Regions from separate parts of the Homo sapiens genome. Here all the other regions are linked to region 2. The links are contacts of gene promoters, found by promoter capture Hi-C in blood cells and fetal thymus (Javierre and others, 2016). All regions are on one chromosome and are shown on one strand. Each heading gives the region's core, a stretch centred on a gene start or on the middle of the fragment in contact. The rest is flanking DNA. Distances are from core to core; before and after follow the strand shown. Region 1 has its middle 38 kb from the start of TSPAN13. Region 2 holds the start of AHR (aryl hydrocarbon receptor). Region 3 overlaps TSPAN13 (tetraspanin 13).

Region 1 (3,490 bases), core at 893-3,392, 580 kb after region 2:
AATTTATAACATTGTATTTTGGAGTCCATAATGTTTACAGATGTAATATATATGACAACTATTATATAAATGATTGAGGAGAGGGTAAATAGACCTGTACAATTACAAGGTATATTTTATGCAACAGGTTACAATAGTAACTCTCACTAGACTGAAAATTGAAGATTGTACAGTGAAATCCCTAGGGCAACCACTACAAAGATAACATAAAGAGGTGTAGCTAAAAGGCAATAGATAAATTAAAATGGAATTCTAAAAAATATTCAATTAATCCAAAAAGAAGGCAGGGAAAGAGGAACAGAGGAGTACAACCAGAAGGAACAAGCAGGAGAAAACTAAAATTATAGACTTAAAGCAACCATATTAATAATGAGCCAAACATACCATTTAGAAGGCTGAAATTATCATAATAATTTTTTTTTAAAGCAAGACTTGGCCCAGTGCAGTGGATCACGCCTGTAATCTCAGCACGTTGGGAAGCTAAGGCAGGATTGCTTGAGTCCAGGAGTTTGAGACCAACCTGGGTAACTAGGGAGACCCTGTCTCTACAAAAAATATACAAATTAGCCAGGCATGGTGAGATGCGCCTGTAGTCCCAGCTACTTGGAGGACTGAGGTGGAAAGATCACTTAAGCCCAGAAGGTCCAGGCTGTAGCTAGTCATGATCACATCACTGCACTCCAGCGTGGGCAACAGAGTGAGACTCTGCCTCAAAAAAAAAAAAAAAAAAAAAAAAAAGAATGCAAGACTTAGTAATGTGCTCTGTGCAGAAGAGTCATACTTTAAATGTAATGACACAGATAGGTTGAATGGAAATGAATGAAAAAGATATGTCATGCAAACAATATGCCTGAAAGGGTGGAGTGGCCATCCCAATGTCAGATAAAGTAGACAAGAGGCCAGGCACGGTGGCTCACGCCTGTAATCCCAGCACTTTGGGAGGACGAGGCGGGAGGATCGCCTGAGGTCAGGAGTTCGAGACCAGCCTGACCAACATGGCAAAACCCCTTCTCTACTAAAAATAGAAAATTAGCTTGGCGTGGTGGTGCACACCTGTAATCCCAGCTACTCAGGAGGCTGAGGCAGGAGAATTGCTTGAACCTGGGAAGCAGAGGTTGCAGTGAGCCGAGTTTATGTCACTGCACTCCAGCCTGGGCGACAGAGCAAGACTCCATTTCAAAAAAAAAAGAAAGTTAAACTGAAGACTGTTAAAGTTGTTTATAAAAATCAGATATCTGTGGATTAAAAAGTAGACAAGACAAAGATTATTACCAGGTAAAGCGGGACATTTCGTTGGACAACTCATGAGAAAGACATAACAATCATAAATCCGTATGCATCTAATAACAGAGCTTCCAGATATATAAAGCAAAATTGGCCAAATTAAACAGAGAAATGTACAGTTTACAGTCATAATCTGAGATTTTAATACCCCTTTCTCAGTAACTGATACAATTACCAGGCAAACAAAAACAAAACAAAAACATTAAAGATGCAGAACTTCTGAACAACACTATCAACCACCAAGACCTCATCCATATTTGTAGAACACTCCACCCAACAACTGTAGAATACACATTGTTTTCAAGTGCAAATGGCATATTCACCAAGATAGACCATATGCTGGGCTATAAAACAAGTCTCAATAAATTTAAAAGCTTTGGAATCTTACCATTTATGTTCTCTTACCACAATGAAATTAAACTAGAAAGTAATTAAAACCACATATTTTAAAACTCAAATATATGAAAATTATACAATGCACTCGTAAATAATTCATTGGCCATTGTCATTGCTCAAAATATTTCAAAGCCATTTAGCAGGTACAAGTTATGACGTGAAACAGGTTGTGATTTGAACAAAACGCTAGAGGCCAAAGTGAACAGTTTTTCTAAAATCCATGAAAAAACTTTAAGGTTGGTCCAAAGCAAGATACATGATCAAATATCTCATCTGCTATTTTATCCTCAGCATCAGAATTTTAAAATCCTTTGTTGCAAGCTAGTTAGCCTGGTACTCTCCTATCTAGGCTGCTAGAAGCATATACACAGAAAATTCATCTTTCCCTACTCTGTAGCACCTGTGTTACTCTCTATTCTCTGAAAGTTTTAGATATGTTGTAAATAGTCATCTCTTAGATTTCCTTGTATTTAGAAAAGTTGTTTTTTGGTACTACAACAAAAATTGTTGTTTGGTTGTAATTGTTGGTGAGCACACTGGAAAAAAGAAAAAAAAAACAAATACATTTTCACTTTATTGCTCACTAAGATAAAAAAATCAAGAAAGACCAGTTTTAGGACTATACTTTTCACTGTGTTCCCACACACTTGGGAATGAGTTCAGATTAGCTGTCATACGGCTATAGGGCACTAACATCTTCTATCCTCTTACATCAGGTAAAACCCACTGAAGGATGCCAGGACATCTTTCTCCAGAGATATTTGCCAGTTTTAATCAGCTTTCAGGAAAAATGAAATCTACCATCTCACTAATCCCTTATCCTGTGCCAAAGCCTGGTCCTGCCTCAGTTCTTGTCTGCTTGCCCTTATGTCCCCTTGGGAATGTGTTCCAAGATGTTTTGACACCTGAAGTTTGGGTTAGGTCAGTGTTCCTAAGCCCAAGCTTGCATCCAAATCACCAGGAGGGCTTGTCAAAATAGATTGCTCAGTCCACCCCCAGAGTTTCTGATTTTGCATGTCTTGGGGGGATCCTGACAGTCTTCATGTCCAGCTAGCCCCCAGGGAATATCAATGCTGCCAGTCTGGAGACTACACTCAGAAAACCATGAGGATTTCCTGCTAAAAAGAAAAGATAATGCTACGAAAAGGTCTAAGATTCCTCAAAGGATTTAGTTGGTTGTAAAACATCAAGGACTGCTTCTTCCCTGGGGACTAAAAAATAATAATAATAAAAAAATCAAGACTATTTGAATTGAGACATTTCCCACTCTCCTGTGCCTCTTAAAATACTTTAAAAGTGTTTTATTTTATTTCATTTTATTTTTTTATTTTGAGACAGAGTCTGGCTCTATCACCCAGAGTGGAGTACAATGGCTCTATCTTGGCTCACTGCAACTTCTGCCTTCCGGGTTCAGGCTATTCTCCTGCCTCAGCCTCCCAAGTAGCTGGGACCACAGGTGTGAGCCACCACACTGGCTAATTTTTGTATTTTTAGTAGAGACGGGGTTTCACCATGTTGGCCAGGCTGGTCTCAAACTCCTGATCTCAGGGGATCCACCCACCTCGGCTTCCCAAAGTGCTGGGATTATAGGCGTGAGCCACTGTGCCCAGCTGAAAAGTATTTTTAAAAATACAAAATAAAAATACTTGAAAATACTTAAAAAGTAAAAAAAAACTTTAGGATTTTATGGGAAAAAACCCTCAGAAGCAGAAAGTCAAATATCACATGTTTTCACTTTCACAAGTGAGAGCTAAACAATGGGCACACAGGGACATAGAGTAGAAGAATAGACACTGGAGACTACGAAAGG
Region 2 (3,372 bases), core at 382-2,881:
AATTGGAATAAACACATGAATACAACCACCTCACAACAGGAAATGTTTTGAGCACGGATAGTTTTTTCTGACACACACAAAAAATTGGCCATCTCACACAAATATTCCACCAAAATCAACCGACAACGACAAAAGCAAGTTTGTACTCACTCAACTAGAAGAAAACTTTGAAGGGGAAAAGAATTAGAGGTAGATGTTAAGAATGAAAACCTCTCTCAAATGCAGTTCTAAATCTTTTATTTTACAGACCCTAAAGCCACCCCAAAAGTGATAAGCAAGCTTCCGAAAAAGATGTCTGAAGAATACAAATCCTCCACCGTATCCTGTCCGTTGCATCCACTCCCACCTGCTACCACTTCTATCCACTTTACCGATATGGTCACGATGAGCGCTACAAAATTGCTGCCAAATAAGTAAATATGAGCGCAACACAAAGCCAGTTGGTGGGGACCAAAAAGTACCTTTAGAGGCACTCAGCCCCTTCGTAAAAGTCAGCATGTGTTTAGCTCTTTAAAACATCTCGCCTTACCAAACTCTACGAAGAATGAGAATTAAGACCGTCCTCTAACCTAACCCATGCGGATATGAAAAGTGGAAGGAGATTTCAAGACAGGTTTATACTAACTAATCCATTAGCCCAAGGCAGATCAGAGCTGTCAACAAATCAGGACCAAATCAGAAAGAACAAAGTTGCAAATGTGAGAGGGTGTGTATGCACTGGTGCGGGGGAAGAGGATGGGTGGGAGGACAATTTTTAAAATGCAATCATTGAAAACGGGAGAATCCAAGTCCTCTGTCTCCCAGCCGGCCTCCAAACCTCGATTCCACGGGCAGTGCCGGGAATGGACCTAATCCCAGGATCGCAGGGATTTGGGGGCGGGGTGGGGCTGCCTCCCGCACCCGCGTGCCTGAGCGCCCAGCCCCCGCGATGAGGACGCGCTCGGGACACTCACGTTTTCTGCACCGGCTTCCGCCGCTTGCGACTGGCGTAGGTGATGTTGGCGCTGCTGCTGTTCATGGTGCCCAGCCGACGGCGGCGGCTACTCCCCGGGCACTGGCGGCCGGGTCCCCGGAACCCGGTGTAGGCTGGGACCACTGCGGCGGCCGGCGCCGGGTTCCGCGAAGCCGCGCCCGCTCCACCTGCGTCCTCTCGGGACAGTGGCGTGGGCGCCGCGCCTCAACGCCTCGGCTCACGCAGGCTTCCGCAGCCCGCGCCAGTACAGGTGAGCTGCCTGGGCCTGGCGCAGTGAGGGTGGGCGAGGGGCGGAGACCCGCGAGCAAGGCGGCGCAGGTGCCGTCTACACCGGCGGAGGCGGCGCGGCAATGCCCGCAGGTGAGGCGGCCCGGGCGGAGGAGGAGCCTGGGCCGTCTATTTAGAATCCTGGCCTGGGTCGCTCACGGTGGCGCCGCGCCCCGTGACCGTCGCCGCGGCCCCTTGGGTGAGGGAGGTGCCGCCGCGCTGCTCCCGGGACTTCCTAAATCCAGGGTGCTTCCCGCCTGCGGAGCTCGGGCGCGGGCCACCAGTCCCGGCTGCTCCCAGCTTCCGTTCGGCTACACGGCTGCCCCTGTTCTGAGCTGGCGGTCCGGGGCACGCTCTCGGAACAGAGCGTCGACGGGACTCCCCAGCCACTGCCTCCCGCCGCCGCGCGCACCGGCTGAATAGCAGGAGCACCCCCGACCCCTCACCGGCCCCGCCCCGCCCAGATCCCGCGTAGCCCCGCCCCGTCCTGCTTGCCCCCGCCCATCTGGATTCCATTCCGTCTTCCTTGAGGGCCCCACCCTCATCCCGGCACGTGATGACGTAGGACGTAAGGACGCCCCCCCCCGCCGGTAGCCATCTTCGTGCATAGGCAAACTTATTGTAGCTAGACTGTACAAAGTATATCAAGATATGCCAAATATTGAGCTTAACTTCACCTGTTTGAGAGACGGTGGGTCAGCTAACTTGTGGCTAAGAATTACAATTAACTGGTAGACAACTGGTAGACAACCAATGGGACTGTATATTTTCCTAGTTGGGAAGGCTTCAGAAGGCCAGATTTGAGTTGAGACTTGAAGGCTAGGAGTTTCCTTGACCTTTTTTGGTGTGCGGGGGAAGTCTTTACAATAGACAGGAATATAGATAATAAGGGGACTATTATGTATTGTGTCATGGAGGACCATGTGGAAAAATATTGGGAGTAATTAACAATATTGAATACTGTTGAGAAATTCAAATTAGTTGAGAACTGAAAATGTCATTCTTGTTTTCTCAATGTGTAGTCACTGATGACTTTCGTGAATGCAGTGTTGGGGTAATGGGCCTGCAAATAACATTGAAGTGGGTACAGGATTGAGCTGAAGATAACAAAATGGCATCCTCAAGCAGGCAATTTTTCTTCCAAGTTTAGCTGTGGATGAGAGACACATCAGATTGTATGTAGGGGGAGTGAAGGGTTAAATGAGGGTTTTCTAGTTTTGGTTTAGTTCTTTAATGGGCGATACTGAGCGGCTTAGAGGGGGTAGAGATAAACTATGTAGGGAACCTGAGGGAAGAGTGAAGGAATGATAGATATTAAGATACCGAAAGCAGGAGGGAATGAGTGCCAAAGCATAAATGGGAGATTAGGACTAATAGATTAGATACTAACAGAAACAGCACTTACAGTGCTTTGCTATTCAGAGTACTCCACAGCTTCTTTTGAGAGTTACAGGAAATGCAGACTCTTTGGGTGTCCTTATTAAATCAGAACCCGAAGTTCACAGGAACTCCCAGGTGATTCAAATGTACATAAAGTTGGAGGAGCAGTTCTCTACCATAGCTGGAGGAAAGAAGGACAGTGGGTGAGATATAGTAGGCTACTAAATTTTGGATCAGAAAAATGAAGGAGATGTAACAAAGAGGGTATTCTAGCATGAGCTACAAAAGAACAATTGTGTTTTGTGGTCGATGATCTTTGTTTTAATTTTAGAAGAGCATAAAGTGAAAGTGATCTGGGAAGTGACAACAAGGAAGTAGATGGACATCCACCCTGTATCCTGTGATAAGAGAAAATAATTAGGCAGTATTGGGGAGACCTTTAGGAAAGTGATAGCCTCAGTAAGCCACCTTTCAGTTTAAGGAAAAAGATGGAGCAAATTCCCAAAGAAGACAGTGTACACTGGGAAAGTTTGATGTTTATGAATTAGCAATTGCAGAGGCAGAATCAACCATCTCTATTTTTCCCTTCTCTTTCATTTCTTCATTTATCTGTGCTTACTTATAGCCATTCTATCTAAAACGTGTAAGTGTAAAAGAATAATTTCCTCCTAGCTAGGAACTTTAAGGGTGAAAAATTTATATCAAAACATAATTTATTGATTCTGTAGCTTATAACTCCTCTTCATAAAAGA
Region 3 (3,349 bases), core at 391-2,890, 540 kb after region 2:
CATCTGTCCCTTGCATAAACCAGCAATACTCCTCCTGGCCAGGCACAGTTGCTCACACCTGTAATCCAAGCAATTTGGGAGGCCAAGGTGGGAGGACTGCTTGAGGCCAGGTATTCAAGGCTAGCCCAGACAACACAGACCCCGTCTCTACAAAATATTTTTTAAAATTAGCTGGGTATGGTGGTACATGCCTGTAGTCCCAGCTACTAGGTAGGCTGATGTGGGAGGATCACTTGAGCCCAGGAGACAGCTCTCTGGCAGTGAGCTGAGATCACGCCACTGCGTGACAGAGCAATACCCTATATCAAAAAAAAAAAAAAAAAGAAAGAAAGAAAAGAAAAAAAAGCAGAAATACTCTTTCATCAGGGTCTTTTCAAAGACGATTCCCTCTACCTGAAACACTTTTCTTAGATAACTGTTCTTCATCTCCTTTAGGCCTTTTGATACAGTTTGGATATTTGCCTCCTCCAAATCTCATGTTGAAATGTAATCCCCAATGTTGGAGGTGGGGCCTGGAGGGAGGTGATTCGTAGGGGTGGATCCCCCATGAATGGTTTGGCACCATCCCCTCAGTGATAAGTGAGTTCTCCCTCTGAGTTCACGTGAGATCTGGTTGTTTAAAAGCGTTTGGCACCTCCCCCTCACTCTCCCCATGTGACACAGGGACTTCCTTTCCCCTTCTGCCATGATTGTAAGCTTCCTGGGGCCCTCACCAGAAGTAGATGCCAGCACTATGCTTCCTGCAGAACCATGAGCCAATTAAACCTCTTTTCTTTATCCAGTCTCAGGTATTTCTTTATAGCAATGCAAGAACAGTCTAACACCTTTCGTACACTGTTTTCTTTCCATGCAGGCCAAGCATGACCACCATATGTGAAGCTGTGTACCCATCCTCCCACATCCGCTCCACTGCCCCACCTATCTTTCCTTTTACTCCGCTTTATTTTTCTCCATAAAACTTGTTTACCTTCTAATACGATATATAATTTACTTACTTATTTATCATCTGTCCACCCCCATAAATATAAACTCCATGAAGGCAAGCCATTGGGATTTTGTTCACTGCTATTGATGCTCAATTAATATTCATTATTAGAATAAAAAACAGAAAATAACTTGGGCACATCTCAAACTTACATTAGACTCACAAATAACCCCAAACAGTTACAATTATAATACAATTTTACAGGAAGTAGATTCATTCAAGAGAAACGGTAGAGGAAACCCACAGACACGTTTGAAAGGTTGGCCAATTATGTAAAAAAAAAAAAGGGTATTACAAGAAATATTCGATTCTACAGTGGATAAATAAAAGTAATTCCTACTTAATATTACTACTTTTTAACCTAATGCCAACTTTCATGCTTTAAAATATTTAGCTGTGCTTCTGCACTTAACCTTGATCATTGCAGACTAAAAGTAACAAAATATTGTTTTATACGAGTTTTCTTTATGCAAGTTTTACCTGTGAAGAATAGCTGGAAAGAAGAAGCCAAGTCTATAAATTCAGCAAAATTCAACTTTTTCCACCTGAAGCTGTAACAACTTAATTTTATTTCTATTATACATCTAAAGCATTTATATACTATCTGATTTTATCCTTACACAGCTTCATGAGGGGACGACTGAAAAATATCATCACCAATTTATATATGAAGAAACTGAAACTCAAAGTAAGCTGTTTGTCTAGTAACAGAGTTGGAAAAGTTTCAGTTTTCTTCATAAATCCAGTGATCTTTCTTCCCATAATTTGTATGGACATATGTTTTTTATCTAACAGATTAAAAACAGAATTTTCTTCCCATAAATTGTATGGTCGTATTTTTTTATCTAACAGATATGGCACACTTTATCTACTATAAAATGCATCCCAGGCCGGGAGCATTTTATAGTAGATAAAGTGCTCATGCTTGTAATCCCAGCACTTTGGGAGACCGAGGCGGGTGGATCGCCTGAGGTCAGGAGTTCAAGACCAGCCTGGCCAACACGGCGAAACCCCGTCTCTACTAAAAATACAAAAAATAAGCTGGACATGGTGGCGGGCACCTGTAATCCCAACTACTCAGGAGGCTGAGGCAGGAGAATCGCTTGAACCCAGGAGGCGGAGGTTGCAGTGAGCCAAGATCGCGCCATTGCACTCCAGCCTGGGCAACGAGAGTGAAACTCCATCTCAAAAATACAAATAGAAACAATAAAATGCATCCCAACTTCAGAGGTGATAAAAATATAAATTAAGGTGTTTATGAAGTAATTCAGTATAATTTTTATGCTGCATGAGAATTTTTCTCAAAACAACCAAAAGTATAAGGAAAAAGAATCACGAAAAAGAGAAAGAAACAAACATGGAAAGATGTTATAAGAATGAACACACACAGGAGAAACAAAACTGCAACTTCTGAAATTTCCCTCCTGATTTTAAAACTGGCAGGGCAACTCTTAAAAAGTCCCAGTAAATATATGTTTGGTCATATTTTTCAGTTTGGTTCTATTTAACAAAGTCAGCTACCTTTTTTTTGGTTGTTTGTTTTTAATAGAGCTTTCTTCTCTGGTTAAGAAGCACAAGGAGACACATTATAAAGCTTCAAAATATTACGTATTTTAATACAAATTTTATTTCATATTTTCTAAAATTTCCCACAAATCACTAAGCATAATTTTCAAAAGTTTTTTTCACTACTTGTCAAAATCTTTTCAGCCTAAAATATTCCTATAAACTATTAAAAATAAGTCATTTTCCCAAATCATTTTCATTTTTATGTATATCCTAAATGGTATCAAAAAGACCCACACACTATTTCTACATTTCCTTGATTCAATCACACCTCCTTTATTCCCCCAACTTCTCTAACCCACAAATATCTGCCACAGTCCTAAATTTTATGGTACCTAAAGTCAGTATATTCCTTATACGCCATTTAATTTTCCCATTCCATGTCTCTCATCTAGATCCTGTCTTCACAATGCATTTGCCTTTATAGGTATTTATTATTTCCCACAGTTCTCAAAAGAGTGCACACAGTAGACAAAAGTTTATTGACTGAATACAATTCCTGAAAACATATGTATAAAAGGTAGTAAATAAAAAAGAGCCTTCATAAAAGCACATTGATTTTTACGCCCTGTTTGGTTTGCTGCTGTATTTCCAAACTGAGAACAGAGCCTGGCACACAGTAGGCACTCAATAATTGTTGAATGAAGAAACTGAAAGTTTCTTTAAATGCAGGAAGCTCTGAGGCAAGTCATTCTCTTAGAATACTGTGAAGGTGAATTCAGGAATGTAGCTTCCCCCTTTTCTTCTATATTTACAAACTGTTAACACATACTACACTAATTTAAGCTTGTCCAGTAC

The links. The method cuts DNA at HindIII sites, captures the fragments that hold promoters and counts their contacts. A CHiCAGO score of 5 or more calls a contact.
Region 1: a fragment that was not itself captured here is called in contact with the fragment with the promoter of AHR in region 2 in 1 of 17 cell types (activated CD4 T cells); the score reaches 5.1 in activated CD4 T cells.
Region 3: a fragment that was not itself captured here is called in contact with the fragment with the promoter of AHR in region 2 in 1 of 17 cell types (total B cells); the score reaches 6.2 in total B cells.

The regions. Positions count from the first base shown.
Region 1 is chr7:16,714,199-16,717,688 of GRCh38, reverse strand. No RefSeq gene overlaps it. Among named protein-coding and RNA genes, the nearest start is that of TSPAN13, 38 kb to the left of the region's middle. The HindIII fragment of the contact is 964 bases long and covers 1,661-2,624 here.
Region 2 is chr7:17,296,911-17,300,282 of GRCh38, reverse strand. It overlaps AHR (aryl hydrocarbon receptor), which reads right to left and starts at 1,631. Exons shown (of 11, transcript NM_001621.5): 1 at 954-1,631. The coding sequence starts at 1,018. It overlaps LOC101927609 (a long non-coding RNA gene), which reads left to right and starts at 963. Exons shown (of 12, transcript XR_007060234.1): 1 at 963-1,223. RefSeq lists silencers at 957-1,006, 1,047-1,156, 1,207-1,356. The HindIII fragment of the contact is 6,297 bases long and covers 282-3,372 here.
Region 3 is chr7:16,756,674-16,760,022 of GRCh38, reverse strand. All of the region lies in intron 1 of TSPAN13 (tetraspanin 13), which reads right to left. Among named protein-coding and RNA genes, the nearest start is that of TSPAN13, 4.6 kb to the right of the region's middle. The HindIII fragment of the contact is 1,883 bases long and covers 699-2,581 here.